Linked DNA regions of Homo sapiens: region 1 is linked to region 2. Evidence: promoter capture Hi-C in 16 types of primary human blood cells and fetal thymus (Javierre and others, 2016). All regions are on one chromosome and are shown on one strand. Each heading gives the region's core, a stretch centred on a gene start or on the middle of the fragment in contact. The rest is flanking DNA. Distances are from core to core; before and after follow the strand shown. Region 1 overlaps PLEKHM2 (pleckstrin homology and RUN domain containing M2). Region 2 holds the start of RSC1A1 (regulator of solute carriers 1).

Region 1 (3,252 bases), core at 361-2,860, 59 kb after region 2:
CCATCTCTACAAAAATTTAAATATTACATGGATGTCTTGGTACACACCTATAGTCCCAGCTACTCAGGGGCTGAGGTGGGAGGATGGCTTGAGCCCCGGAGTTTGAGGCTGCAGTGAGGCATGACCACAGCATTGCACTCCAGCCTGGAAGAAAGAGTGAGACCCCATCTCTAAAGATTTAGGAAAATGGCCGGGCACAGTGGCTCATGCCTGTAATTCCAACACTTTGGGAGGGTAAGGCAGGAGGATCCCTTGAGCCCAGGAATTTAAGGCTGTATTGAGCTGTGATCACACCACTATACTCCAGCCTGGGTGACAGAGTCTCTGTCTCAAAAAATAAAATAATAGTAATAAATAATAAATTTATAAAATGCCAGCCCCCTCCATGAGGCCTCTTTTCTCCCCACATATGATGGTTTTTTGGCACAGCAGTGATGGGGAGAAAGAGGGCGAGCTGCCAGCGAGAGCTGGACTCTTATGGAATCCCAGCCTGAGCACGTGCTATGGAGTCTGGTTTCTCTCCCTGAGCTGGGATCACTGTTAGCCTACAGGATCAGTGCAGAGTCCTGGCGTTTCTTGACCTGTCTGAAGTGTGCAGTCTGCCCTCTTTATCAGAATTTCCTGGCCAGCTACATGCTGAGGTCTGACTAGGAAAATAAAGCACTCAGGGGTTATGGTACCCCACCAAGCACAAAGGCCACTGAAGTGCCTGGTCCCATTACCTGCTCTTTCTTTCCTTTCTGCGCTTGCTTGGCAAATAAAAGCCAGCAGTCTGAGAGGCCTTCCTGCCGGTTACTCCTGCCTTTGTTTGCAGGCCGTGCCTGGCTGTACCTGGCCCTCAACGAGAACTCCTTGGAGAGCTACCTGCGGTTGTTCCAGGAGAACCTGGGCCTGCTGCATAAGTACTACGTCAAGTGAGTGTCTGGGACGGTCTGTCTCCCCTAGCCTCAGAGCTCCCTTTCAGCTACCTCCCAAAGGCTCTTGTCATGCAGACAGCACAGTGTGCCACATCAGTGATGCCAGAGAGCCATTAGAACCTTGCCAGTAGCTGGGTAGCCTTCACCAGGAGCACCGGTGTCCCATCTGGGCTCCTGGGTACAGTCTGGGTCTCTGCTGCTCCCTGGTCCTCCTCCCAGGCTTCAGACCTGACCAGTGCCCATGCTTTGGCTCAGCCTTTGCTGGGGTTGCTGCAGGAACAGAGTGTGTACAGCAGCTGCTGAGAGCCTGACAAGCCTTGTGCTCGTCCATCTCTGAAGACACTGGCAGGACAGTGCAGTGTGGCTGCTAACCCAGTAGGAGATCGCTGAGAGGGTGGTGGGCAACAGCTATATCAAGCTGGGTGCCGTCCAAGGTGGAGGACATCACGTGTCAGATTTCAACACAGCTGGTATGTTGGTAAGGTTAGGCCAGGCTGGTAAACAGACCCAGAGGCACCATCGTGGCTTCTCATGTCTTGCAGGAATGCCCTGGTCTGCAGCCACGATCACCTGACGCTCTTCCTGACCTTGGTGTCCGGGCTAGAGTTCATTCGTTTCGAGCTGGATCTGGTGAGACACCAGGGCTCTCACTGCTTGTGGGAAGCAGAGGAGGGGGCAGGGTGGGGGCAGGGTGGGCGGTGGCTTCATTTCTCAGGTCTTGTTGAGGGAGCTTGTTGAGTATGACTGGGCTTGAGCAAAACTTGTTTTTTTGGGCGAGGGAAAGGTTTCAGGGTCCATCGAATTGAGTGAGAAGAGAAGTGATGGCAAGAATTCCTGGTTCAGGTGACTTTTTCCTATCTCCCTATCCAACTTGGAGAAAAGCCACATTGCCTGGAGTATCTTAGCCCAGAAGAACTGGCCTTCATGTTTAGGATGTGAAGAGTTAGAAGGACAAGGCAGTTTCAGCCTGGTGCTTCTGGGGTTCTGAAAAGTGTCATCAGCTCCATGAAGAGCCTTCAGCCACCCTCTTCAAGTTCTCAAGTTTCTCTCCCCATCACACCCTGTACAAATGGGATGCTGGCCCACATAGAGCCAAAGAGGCTCCCAGGCACCTCTTGGACTGGGCTCAAAATGGATGCAGCTGCCCCGTCCTAATCAAATGACCTTCCTTGGGCCAGGCGCAGTGGCTCACACCTATAATCCCAGCACTTTGGGAGGCTGAGGTGGGTGGATCACCTGAGGTCAGGAGTTCGAGACCAGCCTGGCCAACATGGCGAAACCTCGTCTCTACTAAAAAAATACAAAAGTTAGCGGGGTGTGGTGATGGGCGCCTATAATCTCAGCTACTTGGGAGGCTGAGGCAGGAGAATCGCTCGAACCCGGGAGGTGGAAGTTGCAGTGAGCCGAGCCACGTCATTGCACTCCAGCCAGGGCAACAGAGTGAGACTCTGTCTCAAAAAAAAAAATAAATAAATAGAGAGAGAGAGAGATAGCGGGGGCATCAAAGGGTGTAGCTGAGTTCTGACAGCTCTGTCTTCCATCAGCCTGAAGTCCACAGCTTTAAAAGCCAACACTATTCACATTGCTCTTCTTAGCAGCTTTTCTTTGAATTTACTACCTTAAGCCATTGATTTCCCAAAGAGGCACATCTGTGTCTCCCAGGCCTGGATCCTGCTGTCTGCAGAAGGCCGCTGCACGAGGCCTCCCACCAAACGGGCCTCCTCTACTCTCTCCTCAGGATGCCCCTTACCTAGACCTGGCCCCCTACATGCCCGACTACTACAAACCTCAGTACCTGCTGGACTTTGAAGACCGCCTTCCCAGCTCGGTCCACGGCTCAGACAGTCTGTCCCTCAACTCTTTCAACTCCGTCACCTCCACCAACCTGGAGTGGGATGACAGTGCGATTGCCCCATCTAGTGAGGGTGAGTGGCCCCAGGGCAGAAAAGCTAAGCCCCTGTTGTGAAACAGACTTGAACTGCTTAAGCCTGGCTGGGTGATGTCTTCCTTGGCTAGTTTTGGTCTGGTGGCTGAAATTTGCAATTAAACAGGGCTGGCCATTTCCCAGATCTTCATCTCCTCAGAGTCCCTGTGGTGGCTAAAAAGTGGATTCTGGGCACAAAAAGCTGAAATTATATATATATATATATATATAAAATATATATTTTTTAAGGTTAGACCCTTTTCCAGAAGGTTCTAGTCACATGCCTGTGGCAGTTTTCTAAGCAAGGAAGGTTTAGCAGTGGGACCTGGAAACCTTGTCGCAGGGTTGAGTGTTGCCTGTTCTGGGGAGCTTGTCTGACCCCACATTCTTTGCAGAAGGAGGTTAAGCAAC
Region 2 (3,203 bases), core at 596-3,095:
GTGCAGTTTTCCTTTTTACTCCTAAAGTGTAAGTAAGGTAAGATTGTTTCATGGGAAGTCAATAGCTTCCTGAAACAATGCTTTGTCTTCTCATGCTGTTAACCAGTAGTTTATTAGAATGATTTAAAGCCTTTTGAATATAACTGCTTTGCTGCTTTTTAAGATCAAGCCCTCTTGTTGGATGTTAACATTTAGTACTGAGCATTTGAGTTGCATCTGTCCTAATAATAGATTGTATTTTGAAGTCATTTTTGTTACTGACCTTTTGATTTTTATTTTTTATTATTATTATTTTTTATTTTGACTGAGTTTCACTCTGTCACCCAGGCTGGAGTGCAGTGGTGCAGTCTTGGCTCACTGCAACCTCTCCCTCCTGGGTTCAAGCAATTCTCCCACCTCAGCCTACCTAGTAGCTGGGATTACAGGCACCCACCACCACGCCTGGCTAATTTTTGTATTTTTAGTAGAGATGAGGTTTCACCACGTTGGCCAGGCTGGTCTCGAACTCCTGACCTCAGGTGATCCACCTGCCTCGGCCTCCCAAAGTGCTGGGATTACAGGCATGAGCCACTGTGCCCAGCCCTTTTTGATTTTTAATTAAAGATCTTACAATGGTCGGGTGCGGTGGCTCTTGCCTGTAATCCAAGCACTTTGGGAGGCTGAGGCGGGCGGATCACCTGAGGTCAAGAGTTTGAGACCACCCTGACCAACGTGGAGAAACCTCATCTCTACTAAAAATGCAAAATTAGTCGGGTGTGTGGCGCATGCATGTAATCCCAGCTACTCTGAGGCAGGAGAATCGCTTGGACCCGGGAGGCGGAGGTTGCGGTGAGCTCAGATGGCGCCATTGTACTCCTGTCTGGGCAACAAGAGCAAAACACAGTCTTAAAAAAAAAAAAAAATTCTTACACTTACATGCGTAGAGGTCAATTTTTAACTGGATTGGTGGCAAAAGAAGAGCTGGAAATGATGTTTAATGATACTATGATGCTTACACTGAGCCGTCTTGTTTGGGTGGTCTAAGGTAGCAGTGAATCTAAATAGTCATTGCCAGTTGAAAAACTATTAATGAACCATCTCCCTCCACATTCCCCTTTCTTTAAAACATTTAAATATTCTTAACTTAGTTGCACACTATTGATGTGATAAAAACTTATAAGCCTTTTAAGTTTAGAGTTGTATTATTTGGTAGGATGATGATTGTGATTTAATCTGCTGATCATTAGTTTACTTTTGTTTTCTGAGTCAGATGCTCACCCAGTTTTACCATGATTTTTGGAAAGCTTGGCTAGAAATAAAATAGAACATTTGCTTCTCTGTCCCCAAGCATTATGTTATTTCTTATTTCTCTTTATAATTCCCTCTCTGTCCAGGTATACCTGGTTTAAGACTTCTCATTTGTAACCTCAGTGTTCACATTTGAAACAAGAAAAGTGCATTAACATGAGAATCATTCTGGTGCAAAGATTCTCAGGATTTGTAATATCCTTAAGAATCACCCAAGGAGCTTATTGAAAATGCACATTCCTGGATTTACTCTCAAGTATGGTACCCCAGGGTCTGCATACTTCACAAGCGTCCCTGGTGGTTTTAGGGCAAGTGGTGAAAAAAGTACACTTGGAGAAACTATTCTAGAGTTGTAGACTAGACTAGGGAATAAAGAAACATAAATGTCCTTCATTCCTGAGCACTAACCCCGCCATTATGTGAATGCATATTAATGGATACTTAATCACATTGAATTACAGTATGCAGATTTTATTAAGAACATGTCTACCTCTTATTCTGATGCTGTGAATGTCTACCACAATGAGAAAGTAATTTTAAAATCATTTCTATTTGTGTAAGAGAAACCCGAGTTTGAGGACCTTATTTTATTCTACGCTGTTTAGATTTGTATCCTCTGGTAATTTAGTGGCATTAGTCACCTGCTAATTAATCTTTTTCCTTTCCCCTGTGTTCCATATAGAGAAAAGTGGTAAAGAATCTACCTCACTGGGAATGTCATCATTACCAACTTCAGATGGGTTTAACCATCCCGCCCGTTCTTCAGGACAGAGTCCTGATGTTGGTAATCCTATGAGTCTTGCTCGCTCTGTCTCTGCTTCAGTCTGCCCTATCAAGCCCAGTGACTCAGATCGCATTGAACCTAAAGCTGTGAAGGCTTTGAAGGCTTCAGCTGAATTCCAGCTAAACTCTGAAAAGAAAGAACATCTTTCTTTACAAGATCTTTCTGATCATGCTTCCTCAGCAGACCATGCTCCAACAGACCAGAGTCCAGCTATGCCTATGCAGAATTCATCCGAAGAAATAACTGTTGCAGGTAATCTGGAGAAATCTGCTGAAAGAAGCACCCAGGGCCTCAAATTTCATCTCCATACAAGACAGGAAGCTAGTTTATCTGTCACATCTACTAGGATGCATGAACCACAGATGTTTCTAGGTGAAAAGGATTGGCATCCAGAAAATCAGAACCTGAGTCAAGTGAGTGACCCTCAGCAGCACGAAGAACCAGGGAATGAACAGTATGAGGTTGCACAACAAAAAGCTTCACATGACCAAGAATATCTTTGTAACATAGGGGACCTTGAGCTTCCTGAAGAAAGGCAACAGAATCAACACAAAATTGTTGATTTGGAAGCTACGATGAAAGGAAATGGGCTCCCACAGAATGTGGATCCTCCAAGTGCGAAGAAAAGTATTCCATCTTCAGAATGCAGTGGCTGCTCAAATTCAGAAACATTTATGGAAATCGATACAGCTCAACAGTCCCTAGTTACTTTGCTTAATTCAACAGGCAGGCAGAATGCCAATGTCAAGAACATTGGTGCATTGGATCTCACTTTAGATAATCCCTTGATGGAAGTAGAAACATCAAAATGTAACCCTTCATCTGAAATTTTGAATGATTCCATTTCCACTCAGGATTTACAGCCCCCAGAAACTAATGTTGAAATACCTGGAACAAATAAAGAATATGGCCATTACTCCTCTCCAAGTCTCTGTGGCAGTTGTCAGCCTTCTGTGGAGTCAGCAGAAGAATCTTGCCCGTCTATAACGGCAGCCTTGAAAGAACTTCATGAACTTTTGGTTGTTAGCAGTAAACCAGCTTCAGAAAATACATCTGAAGAAGTAATCTGTCAATCAGAAACCATAGCTGAGGGCCAAACCAGTATTAAAGACCTTTCTGAAAGATGGACCCA

The links. Contacts are between HindIII fragments. The CHiCAGO score rates a contact against its expected background, and 5 or more counts as called.
Region 1: a fragment that was not itself captured here is called in contact with the fragment with the promoter of RSC1A1 in region 2 in 2 of 17 cell types (M1 macrophages and M2 macrophages); the score reaches 5.3 in M1 macrophages.

Annotation. Positions count from the first base shown.
Region 1 is chr1:15,717,079-15,720,330 of GRCh38, forward strand. It overlaps PLEKHM2 (pleckstrin homology and RUN domain containing M2), which reads left to right. Exons shown (of 20, transcript NM_015164.4): 4 at 815-914; 5 at 1,460-1,547; 6 at 2,656-2,842. Among named protein-coding and RNA genes, the nearest start is that of SLC25A34, 18 kb to the right of the region's middle. The HindIII fragment of the contact is 5,509 bases long and covers 1-3,252 here.
Region 2 is chr1:15,657,868-15,661,070 of GRCh38, forward strand. It overlaps RSC1A1 (regulator of solute carriers 1), which reads left to right and starts at 1,846. Exons shown (of 1, transcript NM_006511.3): 1 at 1,846-3,203. The coding sequence starts at 2,002. It overlaps DDI2 (DDI proteasomal shuttling factor 2), which reads left to right. Exons shown (of 10, transcript NM_032341.5): 10 at 1,970-3,203. The HindIII fragment of the contact is 1,265 bases long and covers 1,282-2,546 here.